2 separate regions of the Homo sapiens genome follow, and region 2 is linked to region 1. Evidence: promoter capture Hi-C in 16 types of primary human blood cells and fetal thymus (Javierre and others, 2016). All regions are on one chromosome and are shown on one strand. Each heading gives the region's core, a stretch centred on a gene start or on the middle of the fragment in contact. The rest is flanking DNA. Distances are from core to core; before and after follow the strand shown. Region 1 holds the start of MED19 (mediator complex subunit 19). Region 2 overlaps P2RX3 (purinergic receptor P2X 3).

Region 1 (5,329 bases), core at 2,049-4,548:
ACAGATTTGTTTGTAAAGTTTATTAAAATCAGCTTTAGTATTAAAAGCACATTAATACATATATATTATATATAAAATATATTTTTTTAATTTTATTTATTTATTTATTTTGAGACAGAACTTTGCTCTTGTTGCCCAGGCTGGAGTGCAATGGCACGATCCTGGCTCACTGCAACCTCTGCCTCTCAGGTTCAAGTGATTCTCCTGCCTTAGCCTCCAGAGTAGCTGGGATTACAGGCACCCACCACCACACCCAGCTAATTTTTTGTATTTTTAGTAGAGACGGGGTTACACCATGTTGGCCAGGCTGGTCTCGAACTCCTGAGCTCAGGAAATCCACCCGCCTCAGCCTCCCAAAGTGCTGGGATTACAGATGTGAGCCACCATGCCTGGCCAAGTGTCTTATTTTCAAGGAGGATCATGGAAAGCATGGGAAGAATGCTGACAAATAAAGGTTTCTGATAACTTTGAAACTGTATCACCGGACTGGGTAAAAATTTCCAAAGTCTAATGAAAATAAAACTGGACTCATAAAATTGCTAACCTCCAGACTAATGTTTTCCATTTTTCACCCACTCTTCTGACTTAGAATCACTAAAAATTAAAACGGCCTTTTTTAGCTTGGCGCAGTGGCTCACACCTGTAAATCCCAGCTCCTTAGGAAGCCAAGTCAGGAGGATCCCTTGAGCTCAGGAGTTCAAGACCAGCCTGGGCAACATCAAGAGACCCCACCTTGAAAAAAAATTTTTAAAAATTAGCCAGGTGTGTAGTGCATGCCTTTGGTTCCAGCTACCTGGAAAGCTGAGGTGGCAGGATGGCTTTGCCCAGGAGGTTAAGACTACAGTGAGCCATGATCACATCACTGCACTCCAGCTTGGATGACAGAGCAAGACCTTGTCTCAAAAAAAAATCCAAAAAACTAAAAACCCTGCCTTTTTCCTAAGGCCTTACCAGCTAAAGCTAGTCAACGTGACTTTGAAAAAAAAATCACCACAAAAGCTTATATTTGGACAAACTTTACACACAACCTACAATCTAGGAAAATAGATTGCTATTAATCTTCCCAATTGACTGCCCTCCAGACTCTAAAGAAACTAGTTTATAGACTATACCAGATATTAAGCTTTGTTTGTCTTGTTCCATAGAAATGTCTCTCTTATTAAATACCTGTTTGCCTACATCATATACAGAGGCCTAGCTTTGAGAACTCATCTACAATGCCATCTTCTGAAATGAGACACAACAATTTAATTGAACTGGACTATCCCCCAAAATGAGAGGCTGGTTTAATGGGATCCTTTGCCGCTCAATTACTAGCCCGATTTCTCTCTCCACAGACACCAACTCAGCTTATAGTGAAACTTCTAAGGAAGTTTCAGACAAAGGAAATAAAGAAGACCAGGGACTCACACCCCAAAATATGGCATCCTGTATGCTAATCATTTTAAATTAAAGGTCCCTGGAAACCAGCAGATACTGGAAGCAGCTTTACTCTGATAACTACCTTATCTGCCTAAAGTCCAGACCTGTCAAAGAAGACAACAATTACTTCTGGTCTCTTCCCTGAGTTTTCATTAACTTACTTCAGTACAAGAAGAAAGATGGAAGCCTGTCAACACACCTGGACAGATTTTTGTCAGAAACCATTGTCTGCTCTGCAGGCCCAACAGTCATTGTCCCAGGCCACTGTATGTTCTCCAGGCCACTGAATCACCCTAAAAATCATTTACGATCCACCTTAAAATCACCCACATTTTCCCATCTCCCATATTCCTATGAAAGAGGGTATATAAGCATCTGTACCCCACTGGGTCATTCTCCTGCAATTCCCTCATGCTATGCACGTTAAAATAAAATTTCTATGCCTTTCTCCTATTAATGTGCCCTTTGTCGGTTGATTTTTCAACAAACCCTCAGAGAGCAAAGGGGAAGCTTTTCCTTGGCCCCTACATGCTATATGGCAGAAGGGAAAGTGCTTTAAGTTTATGTTCCGAGCAGTCCCTCCACCCATACCAAGGAAGCACAGCAAGGAGCTTGGGACACTTCCCAAAGAAATCCCAAAGATTTCTTTACAACGTATTTTTTACAATTCCTTTACAGTAGCCCCCAAATTTTATCCACTTTCGCATCTTCAGGATCAAGCAGAGTGCCTAGAGTGTACACTCTAGAAATGTTTATTGAATTAAGAAGCGGCTGACAGTGTTGTGCAGGTAGTGTGGCCAGAAGAGTAGTTTCAAGTCCCAGGCACTCATTAGTTGTATGACCTGGGGCAAGTCACCTAAATATACCGAGATCCATTTCTTCACCAATGAAACAGGAATATTACTACTTGCCTTGTCTACCTTACTGGCTCCTCAGGAGGCTTTACATAATGAGCGGCACTGTAAAACGTTATACACGTGTATGTACAGTTTTGATAGGGCTGTTAATTAGTCTCAATGGTGAAACAGAAAGAAACCTGGACTCAACAGTCAAAAGCTGTTGGGCCGTTGTGCATGGGCTACGACTAACATGTTCCGTTTTCCCATCTTAAACACAAAGTTTAGACTCGATGATGGTTCGGACCCTGCACTTAATAGTCTCTAAGTCCGCTACAGGCTCGGAACCTCAGGTGTCCTCAGAGAGGTAAACCCCAGGGTTCCCAGATACACCTGCAAGGGCAGGGACAGTCAAGGTCGCGGGGTACTAACACGCGGGAGGCTCACCCAGTCAAAGTCACACGGGTTACCGTCTTCGCGTTGGGTGGGCAGACCGTGGCAGAGCGGCGGCAGTTTCCTCACGAGTAGGAAGGCAGCAGAGAGCAGGGCCGACAGAAGGTAGTAAGGTTGGGCGAGCCATCGTGAAAGTCGCGGCACCGAATACACGAGAGCAATTAGAGGTGCCAAGACCGCCATCTTTTCGGCCGTAACGGCCACTGCTCGCCGGCGTCGTAGGTCTCGCCCCGCCTCCCCCACCATAACGACTGCTATTGGGCTATATCGCAAACGTACGGCCTCTAAACCCGGATGTAGTTCTCTGAACGCTGTGGTAGGTCAGAACCCAAAAAAGAACTTAATATTTTATTGGTTAGTCTAGTTGTCGCTTTATCCGCCTAAGTCATTTTATTGGACTGTAGCAAGCAGAGCTAGCAGAAGACTCTAATAAGGTTAAATAGCACTTCCTGAACGTTCTCATAAGGCGACGGAAGTAGTTGTTGAAAAAAGGTAGGCGGTGCCTGAGGCATCCAATGACAAGCGGCTCCTTGAGAAAGGGCGGGGGGGTACTCCTTGAAAGCATTGTCCAATGAAAATTACCAACGGCAGACACGGAGACAGCGCCGGGGCGGAGGGTACGATGGAGAATTTCACGGCACTGTTTGGGGCTCAGGCTGACCCACCACCGCCCCCAACCGCACTCGGCTTCGGACCAGGAAAGCCTCCACCCCCGCCACCGCCTCCTGCGGGCGGGGGACCCGGCACGGCCCCGCCTCCCACCGCGGCCACGGCTCCTCCTGGCGCGGACAAGTCAGGAGCTGGCTGTGGCCCTTTTTACCTCATGAGGGAACTGCCAGGTGAGTACTCGGCCTTGCCAAAGCCAGCCAATCAAATCTTAGAGAGGAGGTGATGGGCGTGGCTCTCAGCCGGCTAGCGGAGGTGCGAGGTAACCTAGGCAACGCATACCCGGACTGTGGAGCCCTAAGTCGGAAGCGCTGTTAGGATTCACAAGCAGAGGGATGACTTGAATTCAACCAGGATGAGTTGAATTCAACCAAAGGGATGAATGGCGGGCAGGGGCGTAGTGCATCTCCGTTACTGTCTTTTGCACCATGTCCAGGCTGTGTCCCTGACACTGGTTTATGTCTCTCTAAAAAATGACCTAGGGCTGGGCGCGGTGGCTCACGCCTGTAATCCCAACACTCTGGGAGGCGGAGGCGGGCGAATCACCTAAGGTCAGGAGTTCGAGACCGGCCTGGCCAACATGATGAAACCCTGTCTCCACAAAAAACACAAAAATTACCTGGGCGTGGTGGCGTATACCTTTAATTCCAGCTACTCGGGAGGCTGAGGCGGGAGAATCGTTTGAACCCCGGGAGGCGGAGGTTGCAGAGAGCCGACATTGCTCCACTGCACTCCAGCCTGGGCGAACGAGACTCCGTCTCAAAACAAACAAAATCCAGGGTTTGAGTTTGGAACTCGAGAGGCCTGATTTAATATCTTTGGGGACCCAAAGTTTTAGTTACAGGTCTCCCACAGACTTGCTATTGGTTTGGGGCAAGTTGCCATTCTTCCTTCTAAGGTTCCGGCATTTCCTGGTCTGATCAAAAAAGGGATAAGAATCGAACCAAACTCTTCATTCAAAAAATTATTTTGTTGAGTACCTATGTACCAAGCACTTTTCTAAATGCTGGAGACAGTTGTGAACAAGACTGACAAGATGCTTGCCTTTTTTGGGATGTACATTTCAGTGGAGGAGGCATTGTAAACAAGATAATGTCAGAAAGTGGTTAATGCTAGGAAAAGAAAACATGATAAAAATTGAAGGTGGCCAGGCGCGTTGCTCACGCCTGTAATCCCAGCGCTTTGGGAGGCCGAGGCAGAATCCCTTGAGCCCAGGAGTTTGAGACCAGCATGGGCAACATGGCGAGACCCAGTCTCTACAAAATATACAAGATTAACCGGGCGTGGTAATGCATGCCTGTAGCCCCAGCTACTCAGGAGGCTAAGGGAGGAGAATCGCTTGAACACAGGAGGTCGAGGCTGCAGTGAACCAAGATTGTGCCACTGCACTCCAGCCTGGGCAACAGATGAGACCCTGTCTCTTAAAAAAAAAAAATTGAGGGGCAGAACTACTTTAGCTAGAGTGGCCAGAGATGCTCTCTTCACATAGCTAACATTTGAACTAAAATGTAAGCATAGACAAAGGGCCAGCCATGTATGGACAGGAGGGAGAGACAATTGTAGATACAAGAAATGAGGTCAGAAACCCTGATGTGAGAAAAAGCTTAGAATATCTGAGGGACAGAAAATCAGTTGGACTCCAGTGAAGTGAACAAAAGGAAAGAGTGTTAGGGAGAGAGATGAAGCTGGGAGAGTTAGGCAGAGGCTTTTATAAAGCAGTAAAGGCATTTAGATTGTAAATACAAAAGGAAGCCATTTAAAAAATTTTTTTATAGACACAAGGTCTCACTGTGTCACCCAGGCTGGACTGCAGTGGTATAATCATAGCTCACTGTAACCTCCAGTTCCTAGGCTCATGCTGTCGTCCCACCTCAGCCTTCCAAGTAGCTAGGACTACAGGCATGCACCACCACAGTTGGCTAACTTAAAATTTTTTTGTAGAGACTGGGTCT
Region 2 (5,607 bases), core at 338-2,837, 360 kb after region 1:
TCTTTAGGGGATCACAAAAATAAAGATTAACTTGCATGGACAGCACCAAGTACACTGGAGAGGATTTAAAGGGAGGCACATTTTGGCTCAATTTGAGGTCACCTTTCCAATGAATGGAGCAGGCCACTTTGCTTGCCACGGAGATCAGATATCCCCCAGTGTCAGGGTGATTACATGGGCCTGTAATCTCTTACATGGGTCCGTAAACTCCTTTAAATCACAAGGGTCACATTAGGAGTTGAGATCCAATGACCTTTGAGGCTACTCTAAGATGCCCCCTTTGGAACTTCCGCTTCCTCATCTGTAAAGTGACCGCCTTACTCTGGGTGACTGCAAGGGGAACTTCAACAGCTATAAATTCTCAAAATCTCTGATTCTGCAGGCAAAGAGCTACAAAAAATAGGGGCGGGGGGGGGGGAGTGACATTTGGAAGGGAGCTGCGAATGTAATTAGTGATGGAAATGTGAATCTCTAGCTGCCTCTGGATGTCTTAGTTAGCAGATTCAAACACGGCCGAATCTTGGCTGAATAATTCCATTCCCTCCAGAGCAAATGGCAACAGTAGGGGTGTTGAAAAATCTGCCTCTGTTGGAGGGAGCAGCAAATGAATTGTTTGGGAGACAAAAGGCCGGGCTATGAATTGTGCTGCCAGCATCTGCTAGTCTTGAAATCTCCTTGGAACTTAGATTCTTTGTTTTTAAGCTGGGATGAAAGTGTCAACCACATAGGCATGCTTTTTTTTCTGAGGATTAACAAGTACAAATGTCCCTAGTCTTCCTGGCTGGGGTGGAGATCATCCAAAGAAATATGTTTTGAATCCAGGCTCCCCCTCTTGCTTGCTTTGTGACTTTGAGAATGTTATTTAACAGTGAGACTCCATCTTCTCCTTTATAAAGTTGGGGGGGATATTGTAGCATCTACTTCGTAGGGCATGCAAGGAATGCTGAGCTGAAGCACACAAAACGTTTTGCACACAGGGTGACTAGTATGGTTTCTACTGATAAGTAGCTTGGTGAGATTCTAAAAAACAGCGTACATCTTACCATATCATAGAAAGTGCACTGTGACCCGCACTGAACCTGGCTTTGTGACCCTTTCTCTCTTATTCAAGCATTCAGAAAGACAGCTTTGCAGCCTCCCACACGTGGGCTCTTAGCTTAGCCTTGGGTGCCAGTAGTTTGAGGTTGCATGAGGGTGGTGGGTGGGCACCCAGGTGAAGGGATGGGAAGGGGCTTGGGCAGAGCCCTCTGCTTGCCACTGATATCAGATGTCCCCCAATGTCAGGGCTATTACTTGGGCCCTCTGGAAACTTTTAAATCACAAGGGTCAAACTAAGCAGCTTTGCCTCCTTCTTCTCTGGCCTGGGGGACTTTGTTGGGGGAGTCAATTATCTGAGATCCTAAGAGGGGGTGGTTTCTCTTAGGCCTCTGGGAATTATGCAGGCAGGGTCTTTGGGGATATTCCGTCCTGCCTCCCCAAATACCCTCCAAGCTTATTTAGGACCAGGTCTATCCCGCATCCTTCTGTGCTCAGGTGGGGAGGGAGGGAAGGCAGCCACAGTGCAATAAATTGGAGATAAAGAACTCCAGACCAATTCTTATTTAGATGAGAGATGCTGTTCTAAAACTGTACGATATCAGTAGTTGGGGGTCTTTATAATATTCACATTCTTCATAAGCTTTTCTGCCAAATGAGTTATTTGGAGGATTAAAGAATTCCCAATGGCCAAAGGGAAGTTATGAAGATGAAAACTTGCATTTTAGATCATGAGAATTTTATTAATATGTTACTATTTTAAGCCACCATACAAATATCCTTTGTATTGATCTCAGTGTGATATACCAACTGAATAAATATGCCAATTTCTGCCAGTGAGCCGCACAGTATTTTTAACCTACTTTAAAATATGTGTTGTTTCCTATGGTTTTTTTAAAGTTTGGAGTTGATGATGAAAGTACTTCAATTTTTAAAGATTCTTCTTTCCAGAGAATATACATGTATATTTTAAACTATTAAATATAAAGCTTAATGGGGTGGGTGATTATTTTTTTAAGTTATAAATTAACAATTTTAAAAGGTGAAATGATTATTTTTGGCTTACGTATGCCATTGTATCAGAGAATACCACCTCAACAAAGGAAATTTGAGTAACATTTATTTGAATATATTCAAATATACATTCTTATGTTCAAATGTAAATGAAATATATTCTTATGTATTTTTTTCCCCTGGTCACTCCCTATTTGTTCTATTTAAGCTGTTTAGTGTATAATGCTGTGTACTTAAACAGGGCCCTGCCAGAAACTTCAGGATCTTCAAAAACTGGGGGAAATCCACAATGTATACATGTATCAAAACATCACATTGTATCCCATATATATGCAATTGTTATTTATCAATTAAAAAGAAAACAAAACCTTTAATAAGTAGTGTTGACCTTGTAGTCTACACTTTGAGAACTGCTAACCTAAGATAACTGAGTACGGTCCTCAGCACGTAGTAGACAATTGGTATGTGTTTAATGGATGAATCAATAAATGAATGATTCAGAAAAAAAAGAAGAGAGAAACAAAACAGAAAGCTGAAGCTTTTCACACATTGGTTAATTGAATCCTGAAGATCACAGTGGTACTATCACAATTTCATAGGTGGGGAAATTAGGATGGGAGAAGACAAATGGCTTGTTCAAGCGCTTTCAGTTGCTTCCAAACAGTTTGTCCTCTAATTCCTCTCTCCCTTTCTTCAAAATGGAAAAACAAAACAAAACAAAACCCGAAAAGATCCCTGAAGTCTCAAAGCCATTGGGATGATATTTAAAGACTGGTCTGAGTTCTTGTTTGGAGAGGCATTGAAGAACCAGAGACAATTATAATTGCTACTGGTGACACACGTTTGCGGAGAGAAATGCAAAGTTGCCATCTTGTAAAATGTAAAATGATACCAGTTATCACCCTTACTTTGTAGAGCGAGAAACCTTAGAAAATTCAGGCCCAGGGCAGGGAATGGGCCTATCTGGAAGTCACTTAAGCACGTCACAGTTTCAGGCCAGTGTTAGGAACAGGCAAAGAATCGCAGAACCCTAGCATTTCAAGAGACCTTGGCCCTCTCTTCTAACTACTGACCTGCAGCAGGAATCCTTGGCGTGGTCCCCTTCAGTGATAAGGAGACACTGTCTCCCAGGACAACCAGCTAGATCCTAATGGCTGTTAGAGAGTCCTTCCTGATTTGAAATGAAACCTGAGGTGGGACTTGGGGCCAGGGGTGGGTGGATGGATGTGGGATCTTGTCTCCCCAATAAACATTGCCGTTAACAGCCCGCACCTTCTTCTCCTGGTGTCCCAGGAGACAGGGAATTACCTGAAGTTGTAGCCTGGGGACACGCTGCTTTTCTCAGAAACGCTGTCGAGCCGGGTGAAGGAGTATTTGGGGATGCACTGGTCCCAGGCCTTGTCCAAGTCGCACACCCAGCCGATCTTAATGCCCAGAACTCCCCCCTGAAGAAACGGGCCGGGTATGAGCTTTCCCCTCGCCCTCTGACTCCCTGCTCTGGGCCAGGGTGGGGGTGGGGTGGAGGTGGTGACAAATGATTTCCTCCCATCCTCCAGGTGGGAGACGGAGGCAGGGAGAACGGAAAGTGACATGTCATATACTGCTCAGTAAAGAAGTGCTGTGGTGGCCGGGTGCGGTGATTCACGCCTGTAATCCCAGCACTTTGGGAGGCCGAGGCGGGCGGATCACGAGGTCAGGAGATCGAGACCATCCTGGCTAACACGGCGAACCCCTGACTCTACTAAAAATACCAAAAATTAGCCGGGCTTGGTCCCAGCTACTCCGGAAGCTGAGGCAGGAGAATGGCGTGAACCTGGGAGGCGGAGGTTGCAGTGAGCCGAAATCGCGCCATGCACTCTAGCCTGGGAGACAGATCGAGACTCTGTCTCAAAAAAAAAAAAAAAAAAAAAGGTTGTGGCTCGGATGCGAACATTGGAGCCTCTGAGTCCTAATTTTGGGATCTTCAGTGCTTTAGCTACAACACAGGAGAAAGTGGCCACAGGTCTACTTTCCCGTCGTTTGGGGCTTATTACAGATCTAAGGCCTTTGCCTGAGGTGAAGTGTGAAGATGGGAGTGGGAAACTGAGGCTTGAGGAAGGTGGACTCGGCGGAGGCGGGGGGCAAGATCGCTCTGCGCGGGGAAAGCAGAAAGGATTCAGGCACAAAGCCAGTGGCGGCCTGGGATGCTTCCACCAGGTGGCGCTGTCTCGCGGCGGCTCCTGGCCAGTGCCGGCCAAAGGGCCCTGAAATCTGGGAAAGGGCTGAAGGTGGGGAGTTTGGGGTCGCGGAAGAATGGCTAGGTCCTCACCGTGCGCGCCAGTTTGGCAAAATCCTGCCCCGCAAACTTGACCACGTCCCCTACCCGCAAGATGGGGCAGAAAGGGTCCTTGTCCGGGTGGAAGCGGCAGGTCTTCATGTCCCTGGCTGTCAGGTTGGGAAGGAGGTTTCCCCTGGGGAGGAGCAGAGAGAGAGGTCAGCCCAGGGTTCATGGGAAGATCGTCTTGTGCAATCTCTCCCCGCCTTCCGGAGCCCAGGCCTAGGGGGGATCTGAGCCCTCAGCCTTCATCTGGACCTCGCCATCTCCCTCCCCTCTTTCCTTTCCCTGCATCTTTCTGGTGCCCCATCACCGCCTTCCCTGTGTATCAGGGTGATGTATGTCGGTGACTAATCTCCAGCTGCCAGGCTGGGAGTTCGAGAGGGCAGGAATCATTCTTGGTTACTCTGTGCATTTTTTTTTTTTTGAGACGGAGTCTCGGTCTGTTGCCCAGGCTGGAGCGCGGTGGCATGATCTCGGCTCACTGCAACCTCTGCCTCCCAGGTTCAAGCGATTCTCCTGCCTCAGTCTCCCAAGTAGCTGGGATTACAGGGGTGTGCCACGGCGCCTGGCTAATTTTTTTTTTTTTTTTTTGGTACAGACAGGGTTTCACCATGTTGGCCAGGCTGGTCGCAAACTCCTGACCTCGTGATCCACCCTTCTCGGCCTCCCAAAGTGCAGGGATTACAGGCATTTGTCACTGCGCCTGGCCTAGTGCACTTCTGTAGTGACTGGCATTGCCCTCTGCACATGGCCAATGCCCACTGAGTAGCTGTGGAATGAGTAAGTCAATGAAGGGGGGCTGAACTGACTAAGAGAAAAGGGATTTCCACACATGGGCTAGATGTGGGGAAAAAGAATGGGACGAGACCGAAAGGGTTTCAACCGTTGAAGGCATCCTTGACCCACGACTAGGCCTAAGTTGTCCCTCTCCTACCCCAAGCAAAACTCCCGTTTGGGTCTGAGCCCCAAGGTGGGGAGGCTGGCAGAGAAACTGACCCCAAAGTTCACCTGATCCTCAGTGGCCAAGGCCCGCTGGGAGATTGGGAATGGTAGGCCCAGGGAGATGGGTCAGTGGAGCGAAAGTGGGAAGAACTGTGGCGAGGGGGCATCTCCACTTCCCTGAAAACAGGTTGGCAGGGCCGGGGGTGCCTGCATCTTGGCTTTAGGGAAGGAGTGGGGACTCACTTCTCAAAGTTGAAGAGGGGGAAACGGATGCTGTTCTTGATGAAAATAGTGAAGTT

The links. Contacts are between HindIII fragments. The CHiCAGO score rates a contact against its expected background, and 5 or more counts as called.
Region 2: a fragment that was not itself captured here is called in contact with the fragment with the promoter of MED19 in region 1 in 2 of 17 cell types (activated CD4 T cells and M1 macrophages); the score reaches 7.3 in activated CD4 T cells.

The regions. Positions count from the first base shown.
Region 1 is chr11:57,710,184-57,715,512 of GRCh38, reverse strand. It overlaps MED19 (mediator complex subunit 19), which reads left to right and starts at 3,298. Exons shown (of 5, transcript NM_001317078.4): 1 at 3,298-3,550. The coding sequence starts at 3,334. TMX2 (thioredoxin related transmembrane protein 2) reads right to left here and starts at 2,920. Exons shown (of 8, transcript NM_015959.4): 1 at 2,706-2,920. The coding sequence starts at 2,894. TMX2-CTNND1 (TMX2-CTNND1 readthrough (NMD candidate)) reads right to left here and starts at 2,990. Exons shown (of 21, transcript NR_037646.1): 1 at 2,706-2,990. RefSeq lists a silencer at 3,328-3,667. The HindIII fragment of the contact is 3,048 bases long and covers 1,935-4,982 here.
Region 2 is chr11:57,348,649-57,354,255 of GRCh38, reverse strand. It overlaps P2RX3 (purinergic receptor P2X 3), which reads right to left. Exons shown (of 12, transcript NM_002559.5): 6 at 5,552-5,607; 7 at 4,358-4,499; 8 at 3,358-3,494. Among named protein-coding and RNA genes, the nearest start is that of P2RX3, 13 kb to the right of the region's middle. RefSeq lists an enhancer at 3,928-4,427. The HindIII fragment of the contact is 187 bases long and covers 1,494-1,680 here.